Linked DNA regions of Homo sapiens: all the other regions are linked to region 3. Evidence: promoter capture Hi-C in 16 types of primary human blood cells and fetal thymus (Javierre and others, 2016). All regions are on one chromosome and are shown on one strand. The core of a region is centred on a gene start or on the middle of the fragment in contact, and the rest is flanking DNA. Distances in the headings are between cores, read along the strand shown. Region 1 overlaps ASPH (aspartate beta-hydroxylase). Region 2 holds the start of TOX (thymocyte selection associated high mobility group box). Region 3 holds the start of CHD7 (chromodomain helicase DNA binding protein 7). Region 4 has its middle 15 kb from the start of MIR4470.

The links. The method cuts DNA at HindIII sites, captures the fragments that hold promoters and counts their contacts. A CHiCAGO score of 5 or more calls a contact.
Region 1: a contact is called between a fragment that was not itself captured here and the fragment with the promoter of CHD7 in region 3, in 1 of 17 cell types (neutrophils). The highest score is 9.1, in neutrophils.
Region 2: a fragment that was not itself captured here is called in contact with the fragment with the promoter of CHD7 in region 3 in 1 of 17 cell types (fetal thymus); the score reaches 6.2 in fetal thymus.
Region 4: a contact is called between a fragment that was not itself captured here and the fragment with the promoter of CHD7 in region 3, in 1 of 17 cell types (neutrophils). The highest score is 5.0, in neutrophils.

What each region holds. Positions count from the first base shown.
Region 1 is chr8:61,696,021-61,702,495 of GRCh38, reverse strand. All of the region lies in intron 1 of ASPH (aspartate beta-hydroxylase), which reads left to right. Among named protein-coding and RNA genes, the nearest start is that of ASPH, 15 kb to the left of the region's middle. The HindIII fragment of the contact is 8,420 bases long and covers 1-5,617 here.
Region 2 is chr8:59,115,005-59,121,805 of GRCh38, reverse strand. It overlaps TOX (thymocyte selection associated high mobility group box), which reads left to right and starts at 2,659. Exons shown (of 9, transcript NM_014729.3): 1 at 2,659-2,920. The coding sequence starts at 2,819. TOX-DT (TOX divergent transcript) reads right to left here and starts at 2,596. Exons shown (of 3, transcript NR_149031.1): 1 at 2,521-2,596; 2 at 1,735-1,849; 3 at 1-1,470. RefSeq lists silencers at 1,915-2,134, 5,973-6,022. The HindIII fragment of the contact is 3,027 bases long and covers 2,754-5,780 here.
Region 3 is chr8:60,676,330-60,683,235 of GRCh38, reverse strand. It overlaps CHD7 (chromodomain helicase DNA binding protein 7), which reads right to left and starts at 4,496. Exons shown (of 38, transcript NM_017780.4): 1 at 4,154-4,496. RefSeq lists silencers at 3,019-3,388, 4,049-4,148, 4,509-4,948. The HindIII fragment of the contact is 9,178 bases long and covers 1-6,605 here.
Region 4 is chr8:61,726,911-61,733,175 of GRCh38, reverse strand. No RefSeq gene overlaps it. Among named protein-coding and RNA genes, the nearest start is that of MIR4470, 15 kb to the right of the region's middle. The HindIII fragment of the contact is 4,439 bases long and covers 1-3,469 here.

The DNA of each region.
Region 1 (6,475 bases), core at 158-2,657, 1.0 Mb before region 3:
GCTAACACGGTGAAACCCCGTCTCTACTAAAAATACAAAAAAAATTAGCCGGGTGTGGTGGCGGGCACCTGTAGTACCAGCTACTCAGGAGGTTGAGGCAGGAGAATGGCGTGAACCCGGGAGGCGGAGCTTGCAGTGAGCCAAGATTGCACCACTGCACTCCAGGCTGGGCGACAGAGCGAGACTCTGTCAAAAAAAAAAAAAAAAAAAAAAAAGAAGTAGCTATTTGGTAAAACTCATTGGAACCTTTTTGTCATTTTACCCCAACACTGGGTGAGGTGTGGGTAGACATGAGGGGAAACTGCCTTTGCTTTTTAAATGTTTACAGGACTACTTAAAATTTCTGTGTCTTCTTGAGTTAGGTTTGCTATGTTATATTTTCTCTTGGTAGGTACATTTGAGTAAGTTATATTTTCTAAAACGTTTTCTGTCTTTGAAGTTTCAAACTTACTGGCAAAAAGTTGTGTATGGTTTTAGTGCTTCTTGTAAACAGAATATAGCTATTGTATGTCTAGTATTACCTTGTAATAAAATTCCATTTAAAATGACTAAATACTAAGTTTCTTTAAATTGTAACTATTTCAGCTACTAAGAATGTTTTGCTAAGTTTATTAAAGTAAAAATTCTTTATAAAATACATGGGATATTCTAACATCTGTGAGAAGGTAAGCCATTTAATACTGGTAATTTGGTTTAATTGACTTGATATGCTGCTCATTTTCCTCCTTAAATGGTAATAACTAGCAATAGGTACATTGGTTTGTTAAAAATTGAACTTTCTTCATGACTAAAATATAATGCTTATTTTCTTGAATCTTAAGATTTATTTGATTATTTGGTGGTTTCTAGCTGGTCCATCTGTTTAGTTGTAACCAGTAAATATACCTGGAGACCTAGGGAGCCTGGCATGGATCCAAACATAGCCCAATGTTTCAATCACATATTTGCTTTGTAACATTATTAAAATGAAATTAACTTATATGAAGGTGGAAAACTCTTAAGCCCCTTGTATTTATTTTATAGTTTTTTTCTAGAAGTAGTACACTATTTGTGTTAATAAGTACCCAAGCTAATTTTTAGAATTACCTTGTTATCAGTGAGACATTTAAGATGACTGGGTAGGATAGAGTAACATTGAGTAAGAGCACAGTTCACTAGCTTAAGTACTTTTACTGATTTGGAGTAAACTTGAAATAAACTATGTATGTTCAACACCTTCCTGCTCAGCTGGTCCTTCACCAGTGCCTTGTGGTCTTAGTGTGCTTTTAGCTTATGCTTATTCGTATTTTCAATGCCAGCTATTTCACATCTTCACCAACTTCAGCCAATATCTTACTATTTATCTTTCAGTTGTGGCAGACGGCAAACTACAGTGAGAAAAAAAGCAGAACAGTGGGGCCACCTCTGAGGCTGGGGATGGGGTGCAATGGAAATGGCCATGAGGGAATTTAAGCAGAAATATTGATGTTCTAGATCTTGATAGGGATCTGGGTTACATGTTGTATACACTTGTTAAATCTCAGGGAATGTATACTTAAAATTTATGCATTTCATTTTGTGTAAATTTCACTTTAAATAACTATAAAGAAATGTGTAACTATAGTTTATGATACTCATGCCGAATTATTTAGGAGATGTGTGCTGATGTCTACAGTTTACTTTGCAATGCATTATACAAACAAGGTGATGATGTAAAGGGATGAATAGGTATGCTACAAACAATATAATACCATGTTAATATTGTAGCGGAATCTAAGTGTTATGAATCCTTTCAGCTTTGTTGTGTTTTGCAAATTTTCATAGTAAAACATTGGGGAAATTCTTACGTTGTTTGTTTCCTGTGAAATAGCCATTTTTGTGGGTCAGAAACTGACAATTTCCTGTGGTTGAGCCCGACATATGGAAGCACATTTTGTAGCCATTTTATTGAGGCATCTTTATCTGCCTGGATGCTAACAGGAAATAGCTTCATTTTTCTCCATTCGTTGTGCACAGTTGGGATAGATTAATCTGTTTGCTCTTGGTAGCAGAGGATCTTGACCATCTTTGGGACAGAACTTAACATCTCAGTCACTCTTTTTAAAAGTCTGTCTGGATTAGAGCTGATCTCATTTTCGGTGCTTATGTTCCTGTCTCCCCTTTGCAGCAGGGCAGGAGGGGAAGGAGTGAGTGTGCTTTCCTGTGGTTTGCCTTTGGGGCTGTGCTGGGGAGGAAAAGGGGGTGAGGCCCCTCTCAGTCTCCTCTCTAAGTTGATAAGATTGACTGGCATGGTTATTCACAAGTGACAGGTGCTCAAACACTGCCCATGTGAGTTCTTTGAAAGGCCTGGTATGGACCCTCCCTGTGACACATGACTTGGTCCACCCTCAATCCCCTGGGCCTCCACTCCTGGCAGAATACTTCATCCCCCCTTGCTCTTGGGAGCCCATTGTGTGTCAGTCAGCCCTTTTGAGTGAGGTGCTGGCAAAATGGTACAAACGCTGGTACTTCCCTGCTGCCCTCTTGGATTTGTGGGAAGCTGACATTTTGCCTGGAGCTTGAGCTCCCTTGTAGCCGTCACCTTTCTCTGTAGCCGTCATTCCCCAGTTCCCTCTGCTGTTCAACTAGGCATAGGGTGGGCCATGGAGTCCGTTGCTTGAGTGGACATCCACTGGGGAATGAGAAGTCAATCTCCCTGCAGGCACCCTTGGTCTCTGACAGGCATTCTCCTGCAGAGAACTCTTGATATCTCTCTTAGAAATTTTTTAAGTTTTTATTATAAAATGGAATTTTTTTTCACAGTCTTGCAAGTAAACTATGTGCCTTCCTCTATAATACTGCTTTTTAAAAATTTTTCTTAGGATTTTCTAGGGTTGATAGAGTGAAACTCACAGTTAAGAGAAACTTTTTGATTTTTTTTTTCTCATTGCAACTGTCTGGTGATTTAATTTAAAGAGTCGAGATTTTGTGAATTAGAATAATGAATTTTTAGAATTAGAAGAGACATGAGATAATATACTTCATTTATTCATTATTTTTCATTTTACTGAGGCCCATGAAACAAGAAACTTACCTTGCAGTACCTGCAGTACCCCTCTCTCATTTGTCTTATGGCGAGGGATTTTTGGAATTTATAAACAAATATTTGTACCTTACCAAGTAGATTGAAATATGAGATTCACTATTCTACAGAAGTGTGGTTATTTAGCTTTTGGCAAAGTTGTGAAATTTTTACTGATCTGTATGTAGGAAAAGTCAGACTTCATGCTGTTAGGGTGAAGGCCGCTGTTAGGGCATCACCTGTTTATTCAGTTGATCATGTTTTCTGCAAGAAGTTAGGCAAACCATACAGTCTGAAGGAATAGTTCTCACAAGACTGCCCTCACTTCAGGCACCAGCTATAATTTTGGGGTCCCCAGGGTCCTCTGGAGATCACAACTGATATGGCATGTCCCAGCGCCCACTTGGTTAGGCTGTCCAGTGGCCAAAGCCCCCAGGCAAAGACACTGTTATCAGGCAGAACATTCCTGGGATCTGGAGACCCCACTGAAGTAACCAAGGGCAAAGACCAGACTTCTCTTTGGGTAAAGTTAATTGTTTATGCAATTTTTAGTTGCAGCCATTGTTGGTGTTTATTACTGTTACTCACTTTTATTATTAATTTATTTAGTAAGAGCTTGTTGGCCATCTGTGATATTGTGAAATATATATTTGGTCTTCTTCTTGTTTCCTGACATACATCTCCTAAAACCCTTGTGGTCTCCCAGAGTCTTAAGAGTGTCTTTCGCTAATAATTGACTGGCGGCTAACAGCCCCTAGATAGCTTCAGGATGGGTGCCGGTCACAGGAAAGACAAAGGCATCGTTAGAAGATTGGAACTTTCAGCCCCACCCCCAACCTCTGGGAGGAGAGAGGGGCTAAAAGTTAACTTGATCACTAGTGACCATTGATGTAATCAGTCATTCCTAAGTAATGAAGTGTCCATAAAAAACTAAAAAGATGGTTCCTGGAGCTTCCAGATAGCTGACAAAGATTAATAGAGGAGACAGTGTGCCCAAAGAGGGCATGACATGTGTTTAAGTTTAGCCTAAAGCTGCCTCCTTGCCTATTTCAAGTTCAGCCTAAAGGCTTTTCCATATGTAGTAAATCGTAACGTAACTAAATGAATAAACAGACTGTAACCTACCCTTGTATCAGTCACAGAATTTTAGTCAGTCACAGGGGTACAACTGTTCAAACTATATTCAAATATGGCAAACACTAAGCTGTAGCCAATCCAGCTGTTTCTGTGCCTTTTTCTGTCCATAAGTATTACCTGACCTTGTGGCAGCCCTGGAGTCTCTGAACTGCTTCTGGGTCCTGCCCAATTCAACAATTGTTCTTTGCTAAATTAAACTCTGTAAATTTAATTTGTCAGCCAGGTGTGGTGGCTCACACCTGTAATCCTAGCACTTTGGGAAGTGGAGGTGGGAGGACTGCTTGAAGCCAGGAGGAGTTCAAGACCAGCGTGGGCAACAAAGCAAGACTCTGTCTTTACAAGACATTTTTTTTTTTTCTAATTAGCTGCATATGGCGGTGCATGCCTGTGGTCCCAGCTACTCAGGAGGCTGAGGTGGGAGGATTGCATTCAAGGCTAGGAGTTCAAGGCTACAGTGAACTCTGATTGCACTACTGCACTCCAGCCCGGGAAACACAGTGAGACTCTGTCTAAATTAAAATCAAATAAAATAATTTTAATTTGGCCAAAGTTTTTCTTTAAACACATGGAAACTTGGCACTTCTTCCCACATACCTTGCCCTATGCATCTCTTCCATCTGGCTGTTCATCTGCATCCTGTGTAATATCCTTTATAATCAACTAGTAAATGTGTTTCTCTGAGTTCTGTGAACCCCTTTAGCGCATTAATCAAACTGGAGGAGGGGGTGTTGGGAACTCCGATTTATAGCCAGTTGGTCTGAAGTATAGGTGACAACCTACTACTTGTGACTGGCCTCAGAAGTAGAGACAGTCTTGTGAGACTGAGCCCTCAACCTGTGGGATCTGACACTATCTGCAAGTAGATAGTGTCAGAACTGAATTGAATTAGAGGACAGCCAGCTGGTGTCTACTGCAGAATTGATTGGCTGCAGAATTGATTGCTTACTTGCTGGTGAGGAGAAATCCCCACATGTTTTAGTGACCAGGGGCTGCAGGAATATTCTGTGTTGACTGTGGGGTGAGAGTACAGAAGGAGAAAATATAGAGTTTTCCCAATATCCTTATAATATCCCCAAGATGTATTATAATTCATAATTGTATCAACTGTTTTTTGACCTATGGTTTTCTACTAACTCAACTGTAAGACGTGTGTTTTATAATTTACAGGATTCTTCTGTGTATGCTGTGCTAATGAATTTTTGTAATCCCTCACTTTCCTCCCCATTTGCATCTGTAGGGCACTTTATTTTAAATGCTGGATTCTTTTGCTCCAGAAAGTGGGAACTGGTGGGGAGGAGGGCCATGGATCTTTTGCTGTCAAAATAGGTTAAAGTCAAAGAGTCTTCATGGACACAGCTGTAAACCAGTGTTAGTTGTCCATATTGGCAGTGTGTCCTTGTCTCATTGCCTTGAAATTTAGAGTTAAAGCAGGATTAAGCTTTTTTGTTTCTTAGTTTTGAAAAAATAACCTTTTTTATTCATTGTAATAACTTTTCTTTCACCACCTCAGAGTTTCTCAGTGGACATAGCTCATCTTCCTTTACACCTTTTGCTTCTCTCAGGCCAGTGAGAGACTGTCTTATTTTGAACACCATGCTAATAATTATCACCCACCCATGTGGACAATTGAATAGCTCAGAGGAATGCTTTTTTTTTTCTATGAGACCGTCTTCTCTATTGAGTGCTCTGTAGGGAGAAATAATTACGTTTGCAGAGCCGACTCATTAGGCCTGGCTTGAGGAACTAGCCTGTGAGGTTAACTACTATTTATATTGTGTTTTTATCTTCTTATCAGTGGTGTTTGGGTCCATCACAAATTCGTATGACAGGCATGGGTGGACCCATATTTTGATTCACATTCTCTGCTGCAGTAAATCGGTATTAGCACAGAGGTGTGGGCTAGGGCAGTAGCTCCTTAGCTGGGTATTCTAAAGGATAGTAAAGGTTCCAAAAATACCTGGAGGCTGATATAAATGGGTATTGCTGATATTTCACTTTCGTTTACTAATACTGATGAAAATGCAAGCAGCTTTCTCAATTTTGTTTTCCTAAGTTCTAAAACTCATGGCGCCCCTTGTCATTCTTCCAGCCATGGTGCCTTTCTACACAGGGACAGTCAAGAGAGCAGCATCTGGTGTTTGCCAGGACAGGTGGAGGAGGCTACAGAGCCTGTCCTACCTGGCCCCACTCATGTACAGCCCATGTGACAGTCATCCAAGATCAATCAGGGAGGAATTCACCTGAGATAGAACTGTGAAAACTTGGTGAAGGGACGAATCTGAGTCTGAAATCAGAGTC
Region 2 (6,801 bases), core at 3,018-5,517, 1.6 Mb after region 3:
AAAGATTTGCTCAGAGGTTTAGATATTCAACTTTCCCCAACTTTTAGTACAAATACATCCATTTAGTTTTTGATGGGCCTTGGATACAGCATTATAAAGTGAGCATTTTTTCAGATTACACTGAGATGGCCTCTCTTTGTATAAGTGGCTAGAAGTAAGAACTTTTTCCCCCAGTAGCTCATATTCCCACCTATCACACCATGCCATGTACAGTATACCACTTTAACTCCATACACTCCGATGGAAGAAACCAGACTCTTGATTATGTAGAAGAATGCACAGGTCTCATGCATTTGGATTTTCCCTTAAAGCAGAGAAAACTGGTAGGTCTGTAGAGGAAAGCAGGAGATATCATTATCTCCCAGGAGTCAAGATGCAGATAATGGTATTGTTCCAGTCTTGAACCATTTCATTTCATCTTCCTGATGTTCACGAGGCCATCAAACAGACATCAATGATGAATTCCAAGAAAGTTTTATTTTTAAAAATCAAGTTTTGATATAATAAATGTTGGATTGAGGATAGAAATTTAAGCTGAGAAATGTTTAATTTGGACCTAAAAAAGTTTATTATTACTATTATTATTGTGGAAGGAAATACATACAGGCACATTTTAGTATCTACAACAGTATTTGGGAAGCTGTTATGAAACACAAAACTTCATTTAAATTTTATTATAAAGACCTTTATTAGGAGAAAGGACATATTTTCTATTTCTTACTTTTATTTTGTGCCTTGAAGGACTTGTGAATGTATAGAATAATTATTTTTTCTTACTGCTTCCTCTTTGCAACCCAACCTCCACCAAGTCAATCGTGAAGGTAGGAAGAAAGCTGTATTTCTGTTACTTTTAAAAATGATAACGAGAAGAAATTAAAACAATGGCTTAAGAGAAAGAGGATGTAAGGAGTACAAAGCAAAACTTAACAAAGAGTTAGTAAAGGAACTTGCATTGACAATTCACTCAGCCATGTTAATTTTATCATTAATACTGTCTTCATCATTTTTTTTTCCAGGTCTCTCTGCTCGTATTTGCTTGGTGCTCCGAAATGCACGGGAACAGACAGCTATGGGAAAGCTGCACAGAGCAGTTGGCAATCAACATGTCCTAGAAGGGTGTGTGGAGTAGCAAAACAAGTGGAACGGATGAAGAACTTCCAAGCTCCTTCGCAGAGTTTTGGGCCCTAGTGTGCAGGGCTGCTCCCTCATGAGATGGAGGACAATGTCGCCCACACCTACTTGGACCTCTCACCAAGGACACTGCCCTCAGAGATAAATCTGTTGGACGGCAGCCAAGAGACCCCAAATTGTCTCAACCTCCAGGACACGGCAAGTTGCAAGTTTCCGAGTTGGGGAGGCAAAGCGGGAAAACATGTTTGGCGATTTCCTCCTGCCACTCACCGACCGGAGAAATGGGGAGGCGGACTCCAGGTCTTTCGTGGACTGCCAAGAGCCCTATAGGGCGTCCAGCTATAAAAAGAGAAGAATCCCATGAAGGACAACAAGCAAACTCATATGTTATCCCTTTAGCCGGATTGTGTGCTGATGATTGTTTCCCTATTTACACTTCGAATCACCCCTGTGGTCTTTTGTGAGTCCCCAAGGCAGCCTCAGCCTTCGCAAACCGTCCAGTGGGGCACGAATCTCGGAGGGGTGCGGGCTGCAGGCGGCAGAGGGAAGCCAAAGAGGGGCGGCTTTTCCAGGCCGTCCACCCCCAGGCGAGCTGGTCCTCACCCTTCGATCGGCTCGAGTCCCTCGGACAGTTGCCCACTCACAGCGTGCAAAGGGGTCGCACTCCCTGTGGGTTCTCCGCCCTCAGAAGCGGCGCTGCGCAGGAAAGTCACCTCCACTACGGGCCGGGAGTAGGGAGGGGAGCACAGTGACAGGGTTGGGGAACAGCCGAGGAGGAGTGGGGGTCGCGGAGATAGGGGTGGGGACGGCCGCGGAGAGGGCGGTGGGAGTGGGGTGGGGCCGGGGAGGGCCGGGGGCGGGGCTGCGGGGCGGGGTGCGCCACAGCGCCCCCTAGCTGCGCGCTCCCCACGGTGCCCTGAGGCCGCTGGTGGCTCTGGCTCGGCAGCCCCTTTGTGTGCGACGCGCTGGTCCCGAGGAGCGCGGCACGGGCACAGCGGAGGCCTCCCAGGGTCCCACCGCTTCTGTCCCAGCCAGGCCGTGCTCTCCTCCTTCTCCTTCTCCGCTCCTCCTTTCTCCGGTCCCCGGCCTCTGGTTCCGAACAGCAGCCATTGGGCCTTGACGAGCCCGCGTCCGGCCGCGCTCCCTACCCCGCCCGGCCCGGGACGCTCGCCCCCCTCCCGCCCTGTCCCTTCTGGATCCCCGCCCCACCCCCCCACCCCCCACATCCCGGGCCTCCAAGGTGGAGAAAATAAACTACAAGCAGAACAACTCAGAATCTCCAATAAAACGCCCAGTACCTAGAGCCCGAGCGCGTGTGCCGGGCTGCGAGGGGCGCGGGAGGCGGGGATGGGGGGGCGGGCGGGGGGGACAATGAGCGCATGAAGTTACCTGCCCGGCGGCGGCGGCAGCGGCGGCGGCGGGACCAAGAGGCGGCGGTGGAGCAGGCTGCGCGCTCGGCGCCGACGGGTGCGCGCCGCGGCTTGGGGGAGAGTTGAGCGCTTTTCCCCCCTCTTTTTTTTTTTTTTCCTCTTCTTCTTAAACAAACCACAAACGGATGTGAGGGAAGGAAGGTGTTTCTTTTACTCCTGAGCCCAGACACCTCACTCTGTTCCGTCTAAGCTTGTTTTGCTGAACACTTTTTTTTAAAAAAGGAAAAAGAAAAGGAGTTGCTTGATGTGAGAGTGAAATGGACGTAAGATTTTATCCACCTCCAGCCCAGCCCGCCGCTGCGCCCGACGCTCCCTGTCTGGGACCTTCTCCCTGCCTGGACCCCTACTATTGCAACAAGGTGAACGCTCTGCTTTTGTTTCCACCGTGTTCTTGCTGCTTGATCCTGGGAGGGGAGCGGCGGTGGCCGGGCCGCGGCGGGGCCGGCTTGGCGGAGGCCGGTCCCGGGCGCGCTCGGCTCGCAGCCCGCTGCAGCCTGCGTGCGCTTGGGTAGTAAATATTGTGGAGTAGCTCCGGGGGCTTGCCAAACACCGCGATTGTGCGGAAAGTGACACGATTTGCTCGGATTCTTTCCTTCCTGCTGTTCGCGGCTAAGGATCCCTGCCTAGGTTTGCCGGGGGGCGTTTAAAAAAATAATAAGAGAAAACCGTGGAATACTTTGGGGGTGTGTCTGGGGTCCAGGAACGGAGGCAGAGTAAGAGAATTCAGTTTATTTCCCAGTTCCCCCTTCTCTCTCCCTCCCTCCCCGGGCAGTGGGGGCTCGTGGCACCACTTCCCTTCTCCGGATTAGTTGCCAGGGGAGCAGCCGGGAGTCGGGGTGCAGGGACCTGGGAGGCGCCCCTGCCCCCCACAGGGAAAACTGCCCCACAACTCTTTTGTTTTCTCAAACCGGTTCCGGCAGCCGAGCCCGGGTTCGGACACAGGTCCGCGGGCCAGAGCACAGCGGGGTAGCTGGGTCAAGGTTTGGGGAACAGTTCCTGTTTAAGGGGTGCGCGCGGAAATTGCAAGTTTGTTGGGAGCCGGGCGAGCACGTCGCGTTCAAGTCCAAAGCTCCCGCACTCGCGGAGCAGGGTCCGCGGCTGAGCTGTACCCACGGCCCGCTGACCTCGGGTGCCAGGGCCGCGGGGGCCCGGGGAGAGGCGGATCATGCCGGTGACCCGGAGGTGGGGCGCTGGCCTGGGCTGCTGCGGAGTTCGGCTGGGTCCACCTATAGGACAGTCAGGGGGTACGAGGGAGGGGGTTACTCTCCCGGCTTCTCGAACTCTCTCATCCCAGAGAGGGAGGACACGCAGGGACCGGTCCCCCAGAGTGGTCGCAGGGGCACGACTGCCCACGCCTAGGGCTAGTTGGACGTGTCTAAGCAGTCCCGTTGGATGAACGTTGGCAGAGAGAATTGAGTTCTCTAAAACGCTGGGCGGGCCTTTTAGACGCCCAACTCTCGCTTGGTGATAAATCTGCCTGATACTCACAGCCCCTGCAGGCACATCCATGGCGACCCTCGGTGCATTCCACGGGAAAAATCGTTGGGACTCCCAACATTTGCCTGGTGGCGAGTCATCACCAAACGGCTTTTTTACCTGATACAGAGATATTTAGTGCGCTGCCTTCTCAGCCCTGGACTCCGCACCACGCGACCGAGTCGCAGCTCCGAGTCTTGGACAGTGTTGACACACAGGCAGGCTCTCACACACACACTTCCCCGTGGAGAAGCTCCTCGATGCTGTGTCCAGTGTGAGACCCACTCAAAGGACTGTGCTGTGTGCCGATGGTGTTTAGGCAAGTTAGAAAAGAGGGACATCCAGTCTTGAGCAAGGCAGAAGGGCTTCCATTGTACAGGGAGCCCTTCAGCTACGGGCAAGTTGAAAGGTACGGGGAACTTTGGCAAGCGCATAGGAGTTTGTGTGATGAAGTTTCATTATTTGCTGGTGACATAGTTCTTTTAGTCTAAAATCTGTTTTGTCTGTACACTCAAGTATTGTGTTACGTTTTATTTTGCTTATGACACCAATACTATTGCTAATAAAAAATAATAAAGTTGCAGCCCTATCTTGGAGAGTAAAGACTTATTCCACTGTAGTTACCGGAACCAAAAGCTCAGAACTATTTTGGCAATGAGACTGGACAAATCTTATTAAGTTTATCAGTGATTTTAGGCCCCAAAAAGAAGTTAATGACTTGGATACACATTTCACTCCTCGTTCTTGTGATAAGTAGGGTCAGATTTAATTTAAAAGTTAAATGCTTTGGAAAATCAGGAATTACTTCAATATATTAAATCATTTTCCAATTAAGTGCTTTAAATAATTTTAGTGGGTTGTGCTGTGAATTGAATAAATTAATTTAGAAAGTATTCAGAATTTCTTTACTAGCTCATTGAAGTTCCTTTTAAGTCACCCCGTGTATAAGAAGCAAACTGTTCTTTTTAAATGCAAATTAGGCACCCTTTCTGTAGACTAGTTGCGAGTCTTCTATTTAACTTATCCAGAGAATAATAGATTTTTTAAAATCCAAAGTCATAAGACATGTTTCTAATAGTGGAAGAAGACTTCATGGAAATGTTTCTCCAGGGACATCTCTGGCCCATCTCTGTGTAGCAGTCCATCAGATATATTTGTCACTGGTCCCGATTATATTAAATGTACTGGATAGTTTTCTAGGCCCCACAAATCCCAGGCACTTGAGTTTTTTCACTCCACCATGATTAGCATTGGTACAAAATTTCTGTCCAGCTCCACAATTGTAGTTGTGCATAATGCAGTCAACTAGCATTTGTTTTTGCAATGACATGAGTGGATTTGCAGGGAAATGGAAGAAGGACAGAAGTTTGGAAAAGGTGAAGTAAGAAATCTGTGCCTACATTTATTAAAACAAGTTGGATCAGACATCCCCAAAAGAACAATACTGCAAAGTAAATCTTGCTTCCTTCGGAGGCGTAATGAATATGTAGCTTACTACAAATAGCAGTCAGTTTGTCAGGTGATTTGTTTTTAATAGGGTGATAAGATCATAAATTACTAATTATCTTTATTTTAAACCTGTCAACACTTTGCTTATTTAAAGTTGGTGTGCTAAATCCCAGCGGAACCAGTATCTATCTGTGCTTTAGAATCCTACAACTGTAGCTACAGTTTCCCGGTGACATTTTTTTCAATGTCAGAAGAGACTCTAATGGAGAAAATGAATATTCTCTTCCTGAAGCTTTCTAAACTAAAATGTGATTGTTTTACTCTGCTGACACTTTCCGGCACTGCTGCTCTATAGATTGCCAAAATGCTACTTACATTTTTCAGTTAATAAACTCTGGAGGAGGCATTTTTGGAAACGGTTTAATCTAGTATTGCTCTACTGTAAGACTAATACACGTTATGAACATATCACTATGCAAAGTAGCCTCCATTTTCACATAGCCCATTGTGGGAACAATGCGAATGATGTTGGTTAAGGCAAGTGTGTGAGGCATCTCTTACACAAACAGCCAGAACGGATGGCATGTTGCTGTATATAGGTCAGTGTTGGAAATAGCAGTGTAGCTCATAGACTGGACAGACACATGGAGGCTGGAGTTAACAGTATTCACCTCTTGCAGCCTAATGCATGGTTATATTTCAGACATTGAAAGATGAGTACCATAGTGGAGTTTCATCTAATTAGACTATTTTAAGTAACATTGTATCCCTTAATTGAGCTGAATGCTACCAAAATAAATTGGATTAAATGAGCTTACAATTGGAGTTCTGTAGTGATATAGTCTTGTTTTCTATTCTAGTTAAAGATGTCAGATCATCAGTTTAAATATATACCTACAGAGTAATAACAGTTCTTTTCAGTTTCTTAGTGCAGCGTCATTTCCAAAGATTGTTTTCACTGGTTTTATGCTAAGATAGGACAAAGAAGTGGTACTTTTTCATTTTTACAACGATGTGATGTGTTCAGTTATTGCTCAGTATCTGCCCACATAAGGAGTAGTAATACAATTATGTTATGACATGGCTAATGACAGGGATGGTGACCTCGGCCTGCAGTGGGAGGAGAAATAATGGGCTTCACTGTTCTCAGTGGTTGCCTTTATGGAATCATGTCCTGAATCTTTCTTTGGTTGATTTAGAAACAGGGAAGTCCAAAACACAAACCCATGCTTCATGCTGGTGATATACAGAGTGAAGAATAGTGGGCATTTGGAATATTCAGCTTTTATCATTGAAATGAGGAAGGACAGTGTAT
Region 3 (6,906 bases), core at 3,247-5,746:
CAATTTTTTTAAAGACTAAATAATAAAGTTTTATAGAGAAAGGGGAAAATAGTATCTCCTGAACTAATGAAACCATAATGGTTTTGGAAACCTGTCTAGAAAAATGCTAAATTCTGAATTTCCAATCGCATGAAAAGAACAGATTTTTTTAAGATACACAAATATGCCCACATGAGTGAACAAGACAATTGAAAGGGTCCCACAGAGCCAATATATTGCTGACATCATCTTAATATCACCTAAGATGTTCCTTCTCCATCCTTTTTGGTGATTTTAGCTATGTGACTATGTGCTTACTTTTTACATGTAGAAATCATTTACTGAAAAAGAATCACTGTCTTACAAAGTTGAAGTTTTAAGAGCCATTTGCTCAGACCTGACTAAACATTTTTATTCTTGCAATGCCACATTTATATTCGATGTTTCTAAGATGGCCATGGTGTCTGCTATCAAACCCAAAAGGTTGTATTTAGTTAATGAAAGATGAAAGATAACTATTACTTATAAGTTTATCTTAAAAGTCAAATGTGAATATTTGCTTACCTATAGAACTGCTCTCTATTAGATGGTACACTCCCTAAAGGAAAGTACTGCCTTTTATTGTTTTAACCATGGAAGGCTTGCCAAGGTTTGCTGAATCAAAGTTAACTAAAGGCATGGTGACTGTGTGGCAAGCAAACTTTTTCAAGCATATGGAATACAATGCTGTAATCTTAGGTTTGAAAGAACTACACTAACTTGGCACTTACATGGCTTTTATGGGTTACACAGCAGGCACACAGAAGCATTTACAGTGTATTTTCTCATAACAAAATATTTCTGTTATTTTGACCTAACTGCTTAAAAACTATAACATATTATTGACTTCGCATCTGTATGAAAAACGGTTGTAACATTTCCTTGATGTTACTGTATTATAAAGGTACTCTTCATGGTATTCATTTTAACTCAATAAAAGTAAGGCTAACCTAGAAAGAAGGCTCATTATGAAAAAAGTTTAGGAAATGTTCCTGTAAGTTGAACTGATTAAAAACTAGACCAAATACTGGTGAATCTATAAAAGTACTATTTTAAAACTAAGTTACTGAATACGTTGTTATAAATTTGACTTCCATATTTTCAACTTGGGAAAAAAAGTTATTTCTTTCCTTGAAAGAGGAAAATAATATTTGGGTTTTTAAACATCACCGGTACAACCACTCTACCATTCCTGTATTGTGCCTTCCATGTTAAGACATATAAAAGAAAGTAACTTTTTAAAAAAACTAATTTAAAAATAAGGCCATTGATTAAATGAATATAATAATTTAAAATTCATATACCAGTCTTTTAAAATTATAATTCATTTCTTATCTGAAAACTCATTTCAATCGCGAAAGCATAGACCCAGGATACAATTCATCATGGTTCAATTTAGTGACTCGAACAGGAGAAAAAATTAGAAAATATAAAGAGAAAAAAACCCACAGTGCTAGAAAACAATCCCAATTCTTGAGTACCAGCATGAGGAAATTCACCTGTTACAAGCCTGACAAAAATCCATTATGTCCTTTTATCAGCAGATTACCAAAAAAGAGAATGCCATATTTCCACTATTGGGCAAAATAAGAAAATTTAGCTTCTAAAATTTGCTGCTCAAGCCTTTACCCATTTCCAAATTATTTTACTATAACTTTTTTCTACAAGACAGATTTTTCAGGGAAAATAAACTTTTCCTGAGCAAACTGGAAGACATAAAATGTCTCCTACTTATCACCTAGAAAGGCAAACCAAGTCCTACTCCATGCCCCAAGCATCTAGCTTTCAGCCTCTTTATTATCATTGTCAATGAATGGGCCTCAGTCAAATGAAAGCTGCCATTTTAGGGTAAAGACTGGAGGGCTTCTGTTGTGCAACAGCAAGACAAAAACACTGCGCGACAGATGTACTCTGGGGGCTGGGAGAAGGATTCAACTTCGTAAAATCACTGCTCAAGTTATTTCTGAAATAGGAATTACCTTGTACTTAGACATTACTGCAATCTAAATATAATTATAACTGGGATAAATCAGGTAGCCATGCTGCTAAGGTCACAGTCACTAAGATATTTTTTGTCATCGTCAGACAAGATCAGTGAAGAAATAAAGACACGTATTTTGTTTCCTCTTCGATTACTACGTATACTGAGTACTCCCTCCCTTACCGAGAGAGAACTGGGGTGAAATAACACTTAACCCCTTAGAAAGGTATCGCCCACTGCAAAGACGGCTTAAATTAAAATTTTTAGAAAATAAAAAATCAGGGCCTCACAAAATCCTTTAAAAATAAATTAAGACATGTAATGTATTCCAGAAATTAAGCCCCCAAAAGGGACACTTTTTAAGATAAGTTATTTAAATCGATTGCTAGATAATATACAATGGGAAACTAAAAAGTATACTTAGCAAGTGGAGCGCTGGATAGTGTATCTAATTCTAGCAATTCAAAAGGAAACTCTCTCCATGTGGGTTGCTACTTTTCTTTTGTCCATTGTCTGTTCAGAAGAGGGGGAAAAAAACTAGTTTAAACCAAGGCGTGAGCAGTCTCTAAAAGTGACCTCCAGGAAAAGAGTCCGACCCATAGCAGGAGCACTCTCCGCGCCGCTCGCTTCACGGGGGCGCTCACAAAGCGGGCGGCCGGCCGGGAGTTTGGGGTGCGCTCCCACGGCTCCGGGCTCCTCGAGGCAGAGCCATCCGGAGAAAGGCGGCTCGGTAATGATGGCTGCTCGGGGCCGGCGGCTCCTTCCCCAGAGCCTCCCGACCAGCGCCCCCACCCCCGCCCGGGAGCCGCCGCCGCCGCCGCCCCCGCCCCCCCCCCCCGCGACCTCGACAGCCCCGCGCCGCCGCGCCCGCCCCGCACCGCAGCCCAGCCGGTGCCCGCGCCCCCGCCCGAGCCCCGCGCCCCCAGCGAGCCCAATCCCCGGTGCGAACCAAACAAACAACGCGTCCCCCACCGCCCTCCTTTCCTCTCCCCGCTGACCGCTTGGCCTCCAGCCACCTCGGCCGTTCACGCTCCAAGCCGCGGCTCTCTGCGAGGGCAGAGCGCACCCGGGTCACCTCGGGGGCCACCTGGTGACCACCCCCCACCGGCGCTGACCCCCGGCGGGTTGGGGGGCGGGGGAGCCGAGTTGCGTTGGAAGGTTAAAGTCGCTATTATGCAGCTGCCGCCGCCGGCGGCCCGGCCAGCTCGACAAGGTGGGGTCCCCTCCTCGCCGCGCCTCCCGGCGCTCGCCCCGGCCCCGCTCCCTTTCTTCTCCTCCTAGCGCACTTGGGAGCCGCCGGGGAGCCCCAGGAGCCCCCAACTCCGGGCTCGCAACTCCGCGCCCGCGACCGGCACTGGCTGAGCTCGGGACGCCTCCCGCGCCGCGTGTTCGCGCTGCCCCCGCCCCACGCGGCGCCCCGCGCACTTTCCCCGCCGCCGACCCACCTCGCTCGGTGGCGGTCCCCGCGCGGGCTGGCGCCGCCGCGCCGGGAGGAACGCACTTTGTTCGCGCCGGTGCGGCCGCAGCTCCCGGCGAGCGCGGCGTGGTCGGTCCGGAGCGGGGGGCGGGGGCGGGAGGCGGGGGTCGCCGCCGTCCCCGAGCCGCCGCCGCCGCTGCTCAGCCGCCCCGCGCCCGCGCGCCCATCGCCCGCTCGCACTTGAGTTGGAGCCCAACTTTTCCTCCTTCCTTTTTCTCTCGAATGGAGCCGGCAACTCGTGCTCGGCGCCGGCGGGAGGAAACGCGCTCGCGCTCCCCCGCGCGCAGACACGCTCCCTCCTGTCCCCCGTACCCCCCCCCCACGCCGGCAGCACAACAAAAAGCCATTTACATGCGAGGAAGTGACCCTCGGCCGCACCGCGCGCCCCCGCCGCCGCCGGCCCGGCGGACGCAGGCAAAAGTTGGGGCGCCGGGCGGCGCTCGGGGCGCGGGTTCGGGCCCCGCGGGCGGCGACGCCGGCGACACTACGCGGGCGGCGCTGCGCTCCTGCGCTGGCCCCGGCCCCCTCCCGCCCTCGCCCCTCGCCCCTCGCCCCGCACACGCCCAACTCCTCGCTCCCAACTCCTAGCGCGGCCCCGGCCCCGGCCCGGAGCGATTTCCTGCCGCCGCCGCCGCCGCCGCCCCTCCCGGGGGCGCCGGGCGAACTCTCGCGCTCACCGGGTCGGTCGGGCTCCTCCGCTGCCTAGTGCCGAGGGGAAAACAAAACGCAGAGCGGGCTCCGGAGTTGGCTCGGCAGCTGCGGCCAGGGGGCTGAATCCACGGGCACGGAGTTGGCCGGGGGCGAACGGGTCTCTGGTGAGTTTCAGGGTGTCCGGGTCCCCGGGCCGCCTCCTCCGCGGCGCTCCTTTGTGTAATTTCACTCGATTCAAGTTTAATCCGATAGTTCCCGAGCACGAGCGCGTCCGCACCACCACGACTCAACCCCCGCGCCGCCGCCGCCGCCGCCGCTGCCGCCGCCGCCGCCGCCGCCGCCGCGGCCCCAGCACGCCAGCGCCTGCGCGCGTCCGGCACGCCGCGCGCACCCGAAGCCGCGGGGCCGCGCGCGCCCGCCGCCAGCTCCCTCCGGGCCGCGCCGCGCCCGCGCCCGCGCCCGCGCGCCGCCACCTGACGTCAGGCGCGCCTGGCATAATTTATGCAAGAATTCGGCCGGGGTGGCGGAGGCCGAGGGAGAGGCCGAGAGAAAAGGGGCGGCGCGGAGCTGCTGGGCCGCGGGCCGCGGGCCGCAAGGGCGGGCCGGGCGCCACTTCCCGTCCCCTGGCGGGCGCCGGCGCTTCAGGCGGGTCTCCCCGCCGGCCGGTGCGCTGCTGCCGCGGAGTCTTCCTTGCCCGGCTGCACGGAGCGCTCGGCCGCTGCGCCCGGGCGCGGACTGGAGGGGCTGCTGCCACGTCTCCCGCGCGGCACCTTCCCGGAGCCGGGTGCGCCGCCCCGGGGCAGGAAGCGGGGCTCCGGGAGGGCTGCGACCCTCCTGGCTGCCGCGAAGGGTTTCCGACGCTGCGCGGCCGGCGGCGGCCGGGGGTGACTGGCAGTCTCTGCAGTAATTATCCTTCAACTTGAAATTATTTTCCCACATGAAATTATTCGGAAGGGACATGTTCCATTCCAGATGGGTTCGTGCCTGCTTCTCCACATCGCTTTTCCCACCTCTTCGTGGATAGGACACCGGATCCACTACTTAATCAAAAAGTTTAACTAGATGGCATTGATTTTGTCGAATTTGTTACCATACCAAAAAAGAGAGAGAAGGCAGAGAGCTCAATGATTATGAAACAAAGAAATAGGATGTATGCCCATTATTAAACGTGTCGGGACTAGAATGTTTTACTCATTCTTTGGCCAAAATGGCACTTGTATCTGATTGCATAGTCTTAAAAATCCGAGCCTCTTATTCCATTTCTCTTCCCGGTACAAAATGAATGTTAAACCTGAAGAAAAAAAACTTTTTTTTACTAATTTTTATTTTAGGAAATAGATCTACAAACATGGATTAAGCCTCTTCTATCTGCAAAATACGGAGCAATTATAATGTGTTTAAACCATCAATTGTAAACTTTAAGATAATTTTATTAGGTTAAAGATTGCACTTATTTTAAAATCAGGAAAGGAACTCATATCAACCAAAGATTGCCCTATGGCAGGTACAGACTGACTGGTTATTACTGGACTCCAAAATAAACTGAGAAAATAGCAAAACTATGTAAAATGTACTAATCTCACTCACTGATGGTTACACTACCTGTAGTGCTAAGCCTGTAATCACAATATTGTTATTTGGACAAAAGATTAATCAAAACTATCTCATTAAGTAACTACTGCAACTATTCAATAAGTTTGATTATCCTAGACTTAATCACTAAGACATTGATTTTCTGATTTTAGTAATAATTCTATAAATATATCACATTATATTGTGGTTTGTTAAATGCACTGCTTTTAGCTTGCTTTCATCATGTATTTGAGTTTTGTTCTAAAAGAAATAAATGTTTTAATGTTTAAGGAGCTTACAGATCATCAAAAAGAACATAGAAGACAGTACAGAAAGAATTCTGGCATTTAAAAAGTTGAAACCACTAAAATCAACTTCCATCTGTTTTAAACCCGGTATCACAAACCAAGAATCACAACTCTGAGGTTAGGCTACTGTTTCCATTAAGTTTATATTTCCCAATGAAAGTATATGAAAGGTGCTTTAGGGGTGTGTGGGGCGGGGGGGTCAAAAACAGGACACAATGTCTAGAAAAAAAATCGCTAGTACCTGACTATATTAGAACACATTTTTAAAATAATGTGCCATAAAAAATTATGTCTTATCTTTTACAGTGTGCCACAGCTCGATATCAGATGTGCATCTATTTCAAGGCAATTCACAGGAGAAAAAAAATGACATCTACATATAGTGAAATTACAATATTGCAATTAACTTGTTATCAACAAATATGACTATGAGGAGATTCCCTGTGCTCTTGTACATTTAACTCGAAAGCTAGGAAACTTCCTTTTGATATATACCAGTACCCAATGTAAAAACAGTCCTACAGAATATAAGTCCTCTGACTTATAGTCTCCTTATCCTGATCACTGCCCTGAGCCATCATGAAGAAGTCTCTAAGCTTTTAGATGTTGTGGTGGTGTGGAACGTAAGGGGCCTTAAAAAGTAGAGGCCCTCAGGGGCAAACTCCTAGGCAGATCTGGCCTACCTGAGTCATAGCTCTCACCACACCACCACCATCCCCCAACACTCCCCTTTAGCCTGAAATGTTTTTTCTCCATTTGCTTCACTATTGAAGTTTTCCCAATGAGAGTAATTTGAATTCACAAGCTTTCTCTTTAAGTATGCAAATACCTTAGGGTGAGATAAGGGGCTACTGGTCTTTCACAGATGAGTGTAAATTGGTTCAATGGGTTGCTTTCCT
Region 4 (6,265 bases), core at 1-2,500, 1.1 Mb before region 3:
GAAGTGCAGTGATCCAGCCCACTGTAATCTCAAACTCCTGGGCTCAAGCAATGTTCCTACCAGCCTCCCAAAGCACTGGGATTATCGGCATGAGCTACCTGATGCCTATAATCAGGACTGGACTGAACCTTTTAATCATTATGTCCCTTTCTGTCCCAGGTAATTTTCTTTACTTCTTTTTAATATCTACTTCTTGTGATTTCTAATGTTTACATGGAATACCATTTTCCATTCTTTTGAGTCTACTTATATTGTTATATTTGAACTGAACTTCTTATAGACCCTATGTAATTGGGTCATGTTTTAAAAGTTAAAACAATTAACAGGCTATATTTTGAGAGCAGGTTTAGATTTACAGGAAAAATTAAGCAGAAGTAAAGAATTCCGTACACCCTCCCTTTCCTAACTTCTCTATCTCCCCACAATGTCCTATTATTAGCATGTTGCATTAGCATGAAGCACTTGTTACAGTTTATAAACTGGTATTTATACATTATTATTAACTAAAGTCCATTATTAACTTTAGAGCTCCCTGTGTTGTACATTCCATGGGCTTTGACAAATGCATCATGTCATGTGGCCTGCCATTGTATTGTCATACAGAATAGTTTCACCATTCTAAAACTCTCCTGTGCTTCACGTGTTCTTTCCTTTCTCTCAAGCTCCTGGCAATCACTGATATTTTTACTACCTGTATGGAAAGCATAACCCACTTAACAACTTAAAAAACTAATAAAATTGAATAAGATTAGCTGAAAAATAACCAACACATTTCAATATTGGATCACATTTCAATAAACAAAATAAATAGAACAAATGATGTGTTCTTACTGAATGAATGAAAAAAGTGTCACCCTGTTTTAAACTCACTTTGAATTTGATGTAAATATTTTTGCTTAATGATTACCTTCTAAAACATGAATTAATATTTTTCTTTAATTGTCAGTAGTCTCTGTTTGCCAAATTCCACGTAGGCAATAGACATTTAAAATATGAAGATAGAGTATGTTCACTGGGCTCTAACATGTTACTGTTCATTATAACTTTATCTCAGGAAAAGGTGACTTTGCTACCTCTTGCATAATTTAAGTCTGTGCTGTTTTCAGCTACTGCTAATATTTTGTACAACTGAGAGTAAAATGTTTTATTATTCAAAATAAGCAATAGCCATATAAATGTGGTACATTCATCTTAAAAGTGATTGAAACTTTAATAAAAAGAGAAATCTTCAGGAATAATAGAATTTGTCTGCTTGTATAATACAAAGCAAAAGTTATTCATAGAAGTATGCAAATGCCACCCATCAGTCTCAGCAATCCTGAATCTTCAGTTTTTTTTAAGAGAATGTGATTATCTGTGAAGCCGGCTTTGTTTCATGGCTTAATTCTACCCATAGCTTCCTCTTCCCAGCTGTCTACATAAACCACTCCATCAGGAAGTATATCAATGTGCTCTGGGTATCCAATGGTGACAGGCCACATCCTGTACCCCCACGGGCTAGGGAAGCCTCTGGTAGCCACAGGAGAAGAAATGGAACTGGTACCTCTAAACAATCCACAAACCCTTCACCCACTTTCCAGTGCCTGCTTCTCCTAAACAACTAATTAGACAGGACACACCTTGTCCAGACAGTCATTATTTATTTATTCCATGAATATTTATTGAGTACCTACCTTCTATGCACTATGTATGTTTTAGGTGCTGGGGAAATGACAATGACCAAAACAAATTCTCTGTTCTAATGGAGTATATGTTTCCATGCTGAGATACAGATAATAAATAAATACTGAAGTAGAAAGATATACAAATATACACTATAATGCCATGGTGATAAACACCAGAGAGAAAAGTAAATCAGGTTGAGAAAGTAGAGATTGACAGAATGACAAGGTCATAGGTGTGTCAGGAAAGGCCTCTGTGTGTCCATGACCTCCAGACTCTAAGAACAGAGGAGAGAGGCCTTATGGATGTGTAGAAAAATAGGGTCCCAGGCAAATGCAAAAGCCCTGTGGTAGAAGCATATCTGTCACGTTCGAGAAAGCCCAAAAGCCAGTGTGGCTACACCAGAGTGAGCGAGCATGGGAGGACATAAAGTCAGAAAGGAATCCAAAGACTAGGTCACATATGGTTTTATAGGCCATGAACAGGATGTTTTCTTTTAAACACCACTTTCTTAGATATACCTTCTTGTCTACCATTTTATATTAGCCTCTCCTACTCATGCTTTATAAGAATATTTGATTTTGTTTTCTCCATAGGTTTTTACAATTAACTGGAAATTATATTGGACTTTGGACTTCTTCTAAATCAAGTAGAAAATGATTGAAGGCTTTTTGCTGTTTGCTAATTCTGACTTAGGCTTCCCGCCAATCACCGTGGATGCTGTGGGGAGGACGGTCTCTCAGAGGAATTACAGAAACTGGAAGATCATCCAGGACGCTCTTTTAGGAGATGGTGGCAGTTTAGGAAAGAGTAATTGTGATAGAGGTGAAAAGAAAAGAGGTGACTGTAATGTAGGATAAATTTTCCATTTAGAGCTGAAAAAAATTGCTGCAGAATTTAATGTGTGCTATAAGGAAAACAGCATCAAAGGAGAGGATGAGTTTCTGAGCCTGAGCATTTGCGTGAAAGGTGGGACCATTTCTAAAATGAAAACATTAAGCAGGGAGAAGGTCTATGGAGAGAAATCAAGAAACCACAATGCAGTGGATCCTTGACTTTAATGGTTTTTTTTGAGATAAATATAGGACCTTTAGGAATCTTTCAAATTCACACATATCCCCATAGCCTACAAGATTTGACATAAAATGCAGCCAACTGGCCTCTTCCTTTTTAGTCCCTTAAAGATCTCTCCCTTGCTCAGTGAGCAATTTTGGTGGTAGTCAGAGCACTGTCTGGAAATGGGGTCTCAAATATCTTTTTCTTAAAGGACCACATGGTAAACCCCTTTGGGGTATGACTCTGTCCACAGATAAATTTGGCATTATACTCTAACTCATCTAAACCTTTTCATTTTTAGCTAAGGACTCCTTTAGGTATTTCACTTCCATCATTAGCATTAGCAGCTTCTTTTTTGGCCACTTTTCAAGAAGAAATAGAGCTTGGTTCACCTTATGAACATTTCTGAATGTGAGACAATGACTCAGGATAAGGAAGCTAAGTCGAGGCAAGGTTCGTAAGTTAGCTATGAGGTTCTCTCTCTGGCTATGTAGGCCTTTCAGGAATATCAGCTTGCTTATTCCTGGAATATTCAACTGTATTTATTAATAAAATTTGAATTTATTTTGAGTTACAAACCAGGGAGTCTCACAAATGGTTGAAACCATTAATTTTAAATCATGAATGTCAATGACCTACTATCTGAATTGATCATATGAAGTTTTTGCTAGTTCGTTTTCCATGCTTGAGCTTATTGATGAAATTATGCTGTCTGAAATGCCTCTTCTCTGCCCTATGGTAATTCAAAGCTTCCCTTACCTAATTCATGGATTTATTAAGCACCTCAATATGGTTACAAATATCTTAGAGAGGCCATGTGTTCAAACAGAAACAGACAGACTTTGGTTCAGATCCCATCTTCCATTTACAATCTGTGTGACTTCTGAAACGTTGCTCACCCTCTCTGAGCATGTTTCTCCATCTTTCAGTGGGGCTAGTGACACCTAGTGAGGTGTTTGAAAATAGCCCAGAGTAAGTGCCTATGGTGGTCATGGGAGTGCACCCCTCAGACTGCCTTTGAAGGGTGCTTGCCTCGAGAAGCTCAGTTGGCCAATGACCCTGGCTGCCACGCCTTCAGATTTGTCCTGGCATTTACACCAAAGGCCACTGCTCCCACCCTAAGTATGGTGGCAGTAACAGACCTCAGCCATTTCTGCCCAGTATAGGACAGAGCTCTAACGATCACACTTTGCCAGAGTTTCCCATTGGCCTAGTTGAGGTTTTCTGTGAGCTCCTCTGAACCATCTATGGCTCCTCCTATCCAGTCCTCTTTCCTTTTCTTTCTCCATTTACAAGAATCAGGCTGCATCACAGGCCAAATATTCCCTCCCCTACTCCTGCTCCCTGCCCTTTCAGCCTTCTCAGGTGTTTCTCTTAATATACCTCTTACATGTCTGATTCTGTCTTGTCATCTGCCTCTCTCGGATCCTAACTGACATGCTGCCTTTAATGAAGACCAGTAGGACCTTGGGCAGGGTCTGGTCTCTGGAGGTAGGGTTCTTCAGCATTCTAGCATTTCTTCTCATCAGGACATAGAGCACATGTCCTCCCTGCAAGGTGTCACTTGTAAGTAGCCAGTTCAACATTAAGCATGTTTGCCCATTGCTGTTCCCATAAGAGCTCTTGACCTTTGACCTCTGGACTACATCCCATCATCTTTCCAGTATGGATTTTCCTGTGCTTTTCAGAATTCTTAATCCCACCTTTGTGCAGGGTCCATCATCATCCCTCCCCACAGCCATTTCAGCTCCCTGAATTTTGCAAGCTCTTGGAAATACATTTACAGCTGACCTCAGGAACTGGGTCCTAAGTCCCCTATGTTAGCTCTCAGGAAAACAAGAGCTCAAGTGTGCAAGCCCCTGCAAAGTCTCCAAGTTTGGGTAAGAATCATCAGGATCATGTGAAGGGGAAAGCTTGTGCACTAGCACCAGACTGCCAGGGTGCAGATCCTGAAGCTGCCATTTATCAGATGCGTGGCCTTGACTATTAGATGTGTGACTTTGAACATTTTTGGTGCCTCAGTTTACTTGTTCATCAAATTTAGATAACAATCACATCTATTTCATAGGGGTGAGGTGAGGATTGTGACAATAAACTCATGTAAAGCAAGCACTAGCGCCAGACACATAATAAATGCTCATTGCTCATTAATGTCTATTATTTATTTATTTATTTGAGACAGGTTCTTGCTCTGTTGCTGAAGATGGAGTGCAGTGGTGCAATCTCAGTTCACTGCAGCCTCTACCTCCTAGGCTCAAGTGATTCTTCCACCTAAGCCTTCTAAGTAGCTAAGACTACAGGCGCACACCATGACACTTGGCTAATTTTTGTTTATTTTTTGTAGAGACAGCGTCTCACTGTGTTGCCCAGGCTGGTCTCAAACATCTGGGCTCAAGTGATCCTCCCATGTTGGCCTCCCAGAGTGCTGGTATTACAGGTGTGAGCCACCATGCCCGGTGTCATTAATATCTATTTCCATCTATTTATATACATATGTAGATAATAAAATAGAACGAGAGCTCAACTGCAAGCCCTTGGAATGAATTCCAACTGTACATATGTACATAAATAGATGGATAACTAATCATAAAAAGGTTTTTTTCAGTAATAAGTAAAAAATGCAAGGCTGGGCATGGTGGCTTACTCCTGTAATCCCAGCACTTTGGGAGGCTGAGGCAGGAAGATCACCAGAGATCAGGAGCTCGAGACCAGCCTGGCCAACATGGAGAAACTCCATCTCTGCTAAAAATACAAAAATTAGTTGAGTGTGGTAGCATGTGCCTGTAGTCCCAGCTACTCAGGAGGCTGAGGCAGGAGAATCACTTGAACCCAGGGGGTGGAGGTTGCTGTGAGCTGAGATCACGCTGCTGCACTCCAGCCTGGGCAACAGAGCAAGACTCTGTCTAAAAAGCAAACAAACAAATATATAAGTAAAACTGCCTTTATGCATTTGATTTTTAAATAAGAATTTCGTTTTTTAGACAAAAAAATAAACTTGGGAGATTATATTTCCTGTTTCACAGTCACCCATATTAGAAAGTATAGTGCCTGAACATAAGTAATCCACTAAAAACAAATTAGCCCTTGTAATATCATCTCATACCAGTCAGAATGGCTATTATTAAAAAGTCAGAAAATAACAGATGTTGGTGAGGATGTAAATTATTACTCTCACAGTTGGTGAAAATGTAAATTATTACAACCCTTATGGAAAATAGTATAGAGATTTCTCAAAGAACTAAACATAGAACTATTATGCAATTCAGCAATCTCACTCAGGGGGTATCTAAACAAAGGAAGAGAAATCATTATTTCAAAAAGACACCTGCACTCTTATGTTTATCACAGCACTACTCACAATAGCAAAGATATTCAGTCAACCTAAGTGTTCATCAATGGATGACTGGATAAAGAAAATGTGGCATATATACACAATGGAATACTATTCGGCCATCAAAAAGAATGAAATCATGTCTTTTGCAATGACATGAATGGAACTGGAGGCCACTGTTTTAAGTGGAACAACTCAGAAACAGAAAGTCAAATC